Regions from separate parts of the Homo sapiens genome. Here regions 1 and 2 are each linked to region 3. Evidence: promoter capture Hi-C in human tissues and cell types (Jung and others, 2019). All regions are on one chromosome and are shown on one strand. Each heading gives the region's core, a stretch centred on a gene start or on the middle of the fragment in contact. The rest is flanking DNA. Distances are from core to core; before and after follow the strand shown.

What was found. The method cuts DNA at HindIII sites, captures the fragments that hold promoters and counts their contacts. A contact is called where the count stands out against the background at its distance.
Region 1: a fragment that was not itself captured here is called in contact with the fragment with the promoter of GPR15 in region 3 in 1 of the 25 tissues and cell types used here (H1 embryonic stem cells).
Region 2: a fragment that was not itself captured here is called in contact with the fragment with the promoter of GPR15 in region 3 in 2 of the 25 tissues and cell types used here (heart left ventricle and mesendoderm cells).

What each region holds. Positions count from the first base shown.
Region 1 is chr3:98,710,644-98,713,343 of GRCh38, reverse strand. No RefSeq gene overlaps it. Among named protein-coding and RNA genes, the nearest start is that of ST3GAL6-AS1, 21 kb to the left of the region's middle. The HindIII fragment of the contact is 7,906 bases long and covers 1-2,700 here.
Region 2 is chr3:98,394,429-98,397,247 of GRCh38, reverse strand. No RefSeq gene overlaps it. Among named protein-coding and RNA genes, the nearest start is that of OR5K3, 5.2 kb to the right of the region's middle. RefSeq lists an enhancer at 124-726. The HindIII fragment of the contact is 7,160 bases long and covers 1-2,819 here.
Region 3 is chr3:98,530,565-98,533,264 of GRCh38, reverse strand. GPR15 (G protein-coupled receptor 15) reads right to left here and starts at 1,287. Exons shown (of 1, transcript NM_005290.4): 1 at 1-1,287. The coding sequence starts at 1,231. The coding sequence ends at 149. RefSeq lists a silencer at 1,267-1,426. The HindIII fragment of the contact is 5,385 bases long and covers 467-2,700 here.

The DNA of each region.
Region 1 (2,700 bases), core at 112-2,611, 180 kb before region 3:
AAGGGTGCACCCTTCTATAGAAGTACGTTGTCTTGCTGAGAATTAAAAAGAAAATTTTATATTCGAGCGCTATTTCTTTTGCGGCACTGAAACTTTATTTATAATAGTATGAATGAGCCTGGCATGTGCAGGGAAGAACCAGCAGATCGGTCTGGCTGGAGCATATCATACGAGGGGAGCGTAATGGGCAAGGAAGCCAAAGAGGAGGTAGGAGCTAGATCGTTCATCACGCAGGGCCTCGAAGGCAAGGGTAAGGAATTGGGATTTGATTCTAAATGCGAAAGGAAGTAAATAAAATATTTTACGCAAGGAGTGATTGAATCTGACATATTTTTTAAAAAATCACTCTGAGGTCTACTTGGAGAAAGAATTACAATGATGCAAGAGTGGAAGCAGAAAAGCCAGTCTGGAGACTACTGCAGGACCTGAGGCAAGAGATGACAATGGCTTGGACCATGCTGGCGGCTGTGGATATGGAGCCCAGTGCCATCTAAATTTATCCTAAAGAATGCAGAAAATCAAAGACTAGTCTCATATGAGACAAACTCAAGCCCCAGCAGAATAACAAGTGGGACCCTGAGGAGTATAAATAATGCCAGATCATTTCTTTCTTTGATAGAATGATGAGTCACCTTAATCAGGGGAAGAAGAGTTTCTGGTAAAAAATCTTGAGTCACGCACTTTTTTTTTTTTTAACGTCTCAAGGTAGAATTGTCTAATGCTTAGGTGGTCCACATCTTACAGGTTATCTAGTTTGGTTCCCATATTTCATGAGTAAGAAAAATGAAGTGAACTCATCGTGGTGAGGGTCTTGCCCAAATTAAACCTCTGGAGAGTAGATTCTTTAATGCTCAAGAGGCTTTTTGCAAGGAAAGAACATACTCTTTGGGCATTGTTCAATGCTCAATTTATTAGTCTAATATTCTATTCCCAGTAAAATGCTCAAATTCAGGAAGGATTCCAAAAAATCAGTTCGGGACGGGTGCGGTGGCTCACGCCTGTAATCCCAGCACTTTGGAAGGCCAAGGCTGGCGGATCACAAGGTCAGGAGATCAAGACCATCCTGGCTAACACGGTGAAACCCCATCTCTACTAAAAATACAAAAAATTAGCCAGGCGTGGCAGCGTGTGCCTGTAGTCCCAGCTGTTGGGGAGGCTGAGGCAGGAGAATGGTGTGAACCTGGGAGGTGGAGCTTGCGGTGAGCTGAGATTGCCCTACTGCACTCCAGCCTAGGAGACAGAGCAAGACTCCATCTCAAAAAATAAAATAAAAAATCAGTTCAATGTTTTTTCTGTTCTTTTTTGTGCTTCTGTTTTTTAACCTCTTCGAGGTAAGACTGGATAATGATACCCATCCAACATATTTTCAATATGTTTTGGAAAACAAAGATATTGATAAGCAGGTACTATGCAGAGTGCCAGATTAAAACCTTTAGAGACTCAAAGTTCAAAAATGTTATAGAGTCCATACTCAATATGTAATTCTATATAAAAATAATACTAGTCCATAATGTAAGTGGGAGACCAGCAAGATCCTGATAATTTTCAAATGACTTTTTCTGTAGTTTAAAAATAACCACTTTTTAACTTAAAAAAAGTTCTTTTGATGCCTCTGTTTTTGGTGTCCTAAGAATGTATTTAAGCTGCATTTGGGTAATCCAGTTGCAGTTGAGCATCTGCTGTGCTTTACACTAGATGAGGAAATGGGATATGACAGAGAATGACTGGAGGGCTTCTTGATTGCGTTATCAGAACAGACTTCTCTGAGGAGGGAACTTTCAAGTTGAGGTCTAAATGATGAGGAGAACCCAGCTACGTAAAGATTAATGGAATGAGCAACCCAGGAAAAAGAAAGAAAGAAGAAACAGGATCCTGGACATCAAGTAGCTCCCCATCTAGTCAGGGAGACAGACATAAAAAGAGCTCATTTTGGCCGCGCATGGTGGCTCACACCTTTAATCCCAACACTTTAGGAGGCTGAGGTGGGTGGATTGCTTGAGGTCAAGTGTTCGACACCAGCCTGACCAACATGGTGAAACCCTGTCTCTGCTAAAAATACAAAAATTAGCCGGGCATGGTGGCAGACGCCTGTAGTTCCAGCTTTTTGGGAGGCTGAGGCACGAGAATCACTTGAACCTGGAGGCAGGGATTGCAGTGGGCAGAGATCGTGCCACTGCACTCCAGCCTGGGCAACAGAGAGACTCTGTCTAAAAAAAAAAAAAAAAGGAAAAAGAGAGCTGATTTTAACACAATGCGGTTCCTGCTGCACCAGGCATGAGAACAGGAATCCAGTGGAAGGAGTGATTAATTAGAACTAAGAATTGAGAAAGGGCTGTGCCAAGCAGAATATACAAAATTATAGAGTAGCATTGTAAAGATTTAAACTCTTGCTTCAACAGAGACATTTGTTAAAAAACAGATTACTGGGCTTCACTCCACATTTACTCAGTCAGAATCTCTGAGTTGGCTGCCTAGAAATCTATGTTTTTGACCAAGCACCCTTCTGATGTGAAGACTTTTTGTGATCCTCTGATTTATGGAATAGGTTTTGAAGTTAGGTGACTCGGACATAGGACCTACATCTCACTTTCATCACCTGTGAAATGAGGATAATAATACAATCTTCCTCATTGGGTAACTTTGAGGATTAAACGAGGTTGTATTTATAAAGTGTTATCTATTATGGCTATTATGTGAAAC
Region 2 (2,819 bases), core at 271-2,770, 140 kb after region 3:
GCTCCTTCTGTGGGAATGCAGTACTCTGAAGTGTTCCAGGAAGACTCTCTTTCATGTGCGTCCATGTGAAGAGACCAAACAGGCTTTGTGTGAGCAACATGGCTGTTTATTTCACCTGGGTGCAGGCGGGCTGAGTCCGAAAAGAGAGTCAGCAAAGGGAGATAAGGGTGGGGCCATTTTATAGGATTTGGGTAGGTAAAGGAAAATTACAGTCAAAGGGGGTTTGTTCTCTGGCGGGCAGGAGTGGGGGTTGCAAGGTGCTCAGTGGGGGTGCTTTTTGAGCCAGGATGAGCCAGGAAAAGGACTTTCACAAGGTAATGTCATCACTTAAGGCAAGGACCGGCCATTTACACTTCTTTTGTGGTGGAATGTCATCAGTTAAGGTGGGGCAGGGCATATTCACTTCTTTTGTGATTCTTCAGTTACTTCAGGCCATCTGGGCGTATACGTGCAAGTCACAGGGGATGCGATGGCTTGGCTTGGGCTCAGAGGCCTGACACTCTCTATAGGTGCACCCATGCTGAGCTCCCATGGGAGAAGCCCCAGCTGTGTCTGCAGTGGCGGACAAGGAAGGAAAGAATTCCCCTTCTGTAAGATCTTTCATGAGCACCAAGGCTGCCTGACTGTTAAAGTAGAGCTGCAAAATTTCCCTCCTGAGCCCAGCACTGCAATTGTGTCTCTGCTGAAAGAAACTTCCCACCAGTGGAAAAATCTGGGATTTAAGGCTTGCCATCCAGATTCTTTTGTCCCAGGTATTTTAATAACTCAAGTTAAGGAAACAATAGAATTTTTATAGAGATGCTCCTGATTCTGTTGAGAATTTTGTCTTCTTTGCTTCAGGGTCCTTCATGGTAGGTAGAGACTTCTTTATTAGGAACCTAGACAATCAGTTCAAAAGTAAGTGTAGGCAGTCTTGGCATTGCGTGGTTCCAATATGCACAGATTTCATACTAGTTGAACATATATGGAATTACAGAAAAAAAATAGCTGACCAGGGAAATGTTGACATGGTTGCATTTTGAGACAGATATTCACCCAGAAGAACTGGATTGTTTTGTCCCATGGGGTGTTCCATTGATGAGGTGCTCTCTCCCATACTCTAGGAGTATGAGTTCCTGAGAGCCAGACTATAGTGATTGTTCTTCTGGGTCTAACCACCCGGTGGGGCTGCTATACTCCAGGCTGGTGCTGGGGAAAGTCTGTGAGGGTTCTAGTGATGTTACCTTTCCTCAAAACCACAGCAGTTGGTACCAGTACTGGCTGTGATGGGAGTGGCAGGGGAGTGATGTAGACTTTGTGAGAATCCTTGATTATAGATAGCCTTAGTGTGTTGTTTTTCTTGAATGTTGATTATGATGGTAGTGAACTCGGCATGTGGACAGACTCAGACCTCCTGGTTAGCCAGTGTGTTGCAGGCAGTGGTGGTAGCTGAGGTCAGATACCAGTTTTCTTATTTCTGGGCACACTCTTATTCTATCTAGAGATGCTGTAGTGGACTGTGTTGGCTGGCCTCCAGCCAGGAGGTAGCACTTGCCAAAGAGTACCTGCTCCTGTAATAGTAGCAGGATTTGAGCTTTCCCTGCTTTGCCCAGAGGAGATATTCTGGTTTCTCAGGTGATGGGCAGGGCCATAAAGCTCCTAAATGTTTCTGTCATTTGTGTTACACTACCAGGGAGGGTGGAGGGGCACAGCCAGGTTGGGGCTGTGCTCTGACTCTCCACATGAGTGGCAAGCTGCAGCTTCTCTGAGGGTCAGAGGGCATTTATCAGGCTGCTGGGGTAATGCTCCAGAGGGGAGTGTAACTGCCTCTGTTGCACAGAAGAGAGTTTGCACAGGGAGTAAAGAGTAGCAGGTGGCAGTAAGCCTCACCCAGATCCCACACAGTTGGCAAAGTTGTTCTCACTCCTGAAGTGTTCTGCTAGCAGCACTGAGCTAAGCTCCAGGCAGCCTTGGCAGCCTGGCTCCTGCACTCATGGCTGCAGTGTACTTCCCACTTGCCCCTGGGTTCTGGCCAAGGGAGTTTGCTCCCACTCAATATTATATCCCAAAATTCAACTGGAGGCTTCTTTCAAACTGTGACCACTGTCTGAGCTACTTGGCTGACTTCCCTGAGTCCCTGTGAGGTATAATAAGGAATGAATGGTTTCCCTCAGTCCATGCTAGAGATTGGGAATGCCTGCAAGGTGCTTTCCACTACTGCCTCTACTTTTATATTTCTCACTATTCCCTAAATCAGTCCCAGCTCTGGGTAGGGTAAAGGCCTTCCCCCATGGCCTGGATTTCACGTTCCCTGATGGGGATGTGTATCCTGGATGCAGTCTGTCCCCTTCTCACACTTTGGGGACTTAGAGTTTTTTGGCTGTTTCACAGTGTAGGCTGTAGCCTGCCACTTCTTTCAAACAGCCTGTGCTTCTTTCAGTTTTCTTGTTAAGTTCCTGTGTTGCTTCTTGAAAAAAGTTCACAGCATAAATCTCTACATGCTATTCTGTCCTTTCAAGTGGGAGAGGTGTGCTAACACTGCTTCTAAGCTTCCTTCTTGGAAGAAAAAAAACCCAGCAGAGCAGCCTCTAATATTTATCATTCTGTTTTTCTTTATGGGTATCCCTCTCATTAAATGTCTCATTGATCTCACAATACAATTAGCAACCTGCACCAGGTACAAGCAGATGGTTTTGCTAGTCATAAATGAGCAAACTGGAGGAGAAATAAACTTAAGGGAAGAATGCCTCTTTTTCCCTTGAACAAACTACGGTCAGGCTTCTGAACCTTCTCTTTGGCTGACTTGTGTACTTTCTTGTAAAATCTAGTTCTAGTAAATA
Region 3 (2,700 bases), core at 38-2,537:
CAGGGATTTTTCAGTCCTCTCTTTAAAAATGAACTCTTCCTTGCATCTATGAAGCAATGTGAATCCTATCATTAACACTTCCTTCTTTGTTGCTGACAAAAATTAACTCCTAAACCCACCAACAGAGCTTGAAATGTCACAGTTCCCTTTAGAGTGACACAGACCTCTTCCTCCTCCTGGCAAAATCTTCTGCATGAATGAAGGTGGAGAGAGCCTTAGTGAGGTGACTATCTGATGTCTCAGTGCTACTCCCAAAGTCATAGTTTTTCAGGCAAGGGCACAAGCAGTGGACAATGGCCCGGCGGATGTAGCTGTCGAAGATATAGTAAATGAAAGGGTTGACACAGCTGTTGGCAAATGCCAAGGGTCCACTCACCTCCATACCAAGCTGAAGAATAGCTGAGGGTAAATAGTGTTCTTGCCGCAACCCAGAGACAATGGCCAGGAACTTGAAAGTATTGAAGGGCAGCCAGGAGACAAGAAAGGCTGCCACGACAATAAAGATGATCTTTATAGATTTCTTCAGCTTTTTGTTGTGCTTTCCTGATTGCTGGTAATGGGCACACAGCTTCCTTGCAATGCAACAGTAGCAGGTCACAATGCTCAACAAAGGGACAAAAAAGGTGAAAATTAAGGCCACCAGGGACCATATGAGTTTAATTGGAGTTGCCTTTTTCTCTGCACAGTATGGCTTATCATCAATCAGCGTGAGCTCCCTGGACAGAAGAGTAGGCAACCCCAGCAGGCAGGAGATAAACCAGATGCTGGCACAGACTACATATGCACAGTCTGTCCTTCTGAATTTCCTGGATACGACTGGCCACACAATGGCCAGGTAGCGGTCAACACTCATGCAAGTGAGCAGGAGGACACTGCAGTGCATATTGACGGAGATCATGTAGGAGCTCCCTTTGCACAGGAAGGAGCCCGTCCTCCACAGTCCTAGAGATGCTTCTTTATCCACCCAGAGAGGCAATGTGACAAGAAAAATGAAGTCAGAGGCAGCCAGATTGATGATAAAGATGTCGATCAGTCTTCGGCTGCCGGGTTTGAAATGCAACGCTCCCATGAGAACAAGGTTCCCCAGCACTCCAGTCAGGAACACAGCTGTGTAAAAGACTGGAAGGAAGACAGAGGTGTAAGGAACATGGGAGTGGGTCTCCCTGATGTCAGAGTTTGGGCTCGTAGCATAGTAATAATCCAAATAAACTGAAGTTTCTTCTGGGTCCATCACCAAAGAGCAGATGCCAAATCTGGTGAGTTTACTTACATATGATGTTTTTGTATAAATTTTAGAAACCTCAAGGAAGCTTCTTTTATACAGTGCCTGCCTCTCTCTCTCTTTTTTCCCCTCCCTTTAAAGATCTTGGACAAACATGAAAGCCGAGATTAAAAAATGCAGTTTCTACCAATCCTCAGAAAGGGCACACAAGGAGCACCACTCTGATTGGTGTTGGTTGGTTGTGGTTGTGGTTTTTTTAATTTGCATTTGCTCGTGAAACTGAGGTGCTTTTTGAGTTATTTTTTCAAGATATTCAATTTATTTCTTTAAGGCCAGTAATTAAGAAGTGAATTAACTTGATTTTTTCACTTCCTTTAAAGACCTCCTTTGCTTTTGACACTGAAATTTATTTTGATCTAGCCTTCTGTTTCACATAGAAGATATTGTTCTGCTTTTAGAATTGTAAGGCAATGATAATGTATTCTTTTTATTTACTTTGTTGGCGAACTAGGAAGAAAACTAGTCTTTCATTGTGTAAAGAGTGAATGAAAAGTTTCCCAAATCATACCAGTATACAACTAGGTCAAACAACATGATTCCATTTAGGGCATGAGAGTCTCCCCATCTATGTGGCTCTTTCATTTGACATGTAGTCAATCCTGTTTCATAAGTTTTTAAAAATCCCCCCCCAAAGACTGGGACCACGTTTTCTGCTCTTATTATTTTAAGTTTTCCACTACAACTTGCATAGCATCTTGCATATAGTTGGTGCTTTGGAAATTGTAGTTTATTAGGTTTGATTCAGAAAATTCTTTTTGTTATCCAGCATATCTAGTAGAAATGAATTCATTGGGGTCTAACTTCAGGTATTGTTGTTATTTATGTAACTTACAAACACAGGTTTAACAATCTCAAGTTGCTATTTTTACCCTCCTATCTGCTATTGTAATTCAACCAGTGAAGTTCTCTTTTGTTAAGAGTTAACATCATTGATTAGGAGATTTTCTCCCTATTAACCCTCAAATACGCTTCATCAGACTCTGGATCCCCTCTGATCTTCTCTTCATTATACCACACCTGTGTAGCACTGATTTTTTTAGCTTCTGAGCCATGGCCTTCTGGTACCTCCACACATGGGTGAACATCACTTTTGGAATTGCTGATTGCTGATCTGGCAACAGATATACCTATAAGTGACATCATGATGGAGGTGCCAGCATGGACACTATAAAAGGGAAGATTTTTTAGTACATTTAAAACACTTGGGGAACAGGCTAAAACAGAAAGAATTCTATCACATTTTTCTCTCATATGTTTCCTTTTATATTATGATGACCATAGTAAAATATAACACATTTTGAAACGGACTCCATTTATTTCAGCTCTTTACTGGTCAAAGTGACTCAAGGCTCTCTTGCACTATTCTTCTCTCCTATCTGATTTAATCTTCAGAATTCTAGTTTCAGGTTGATATTGCT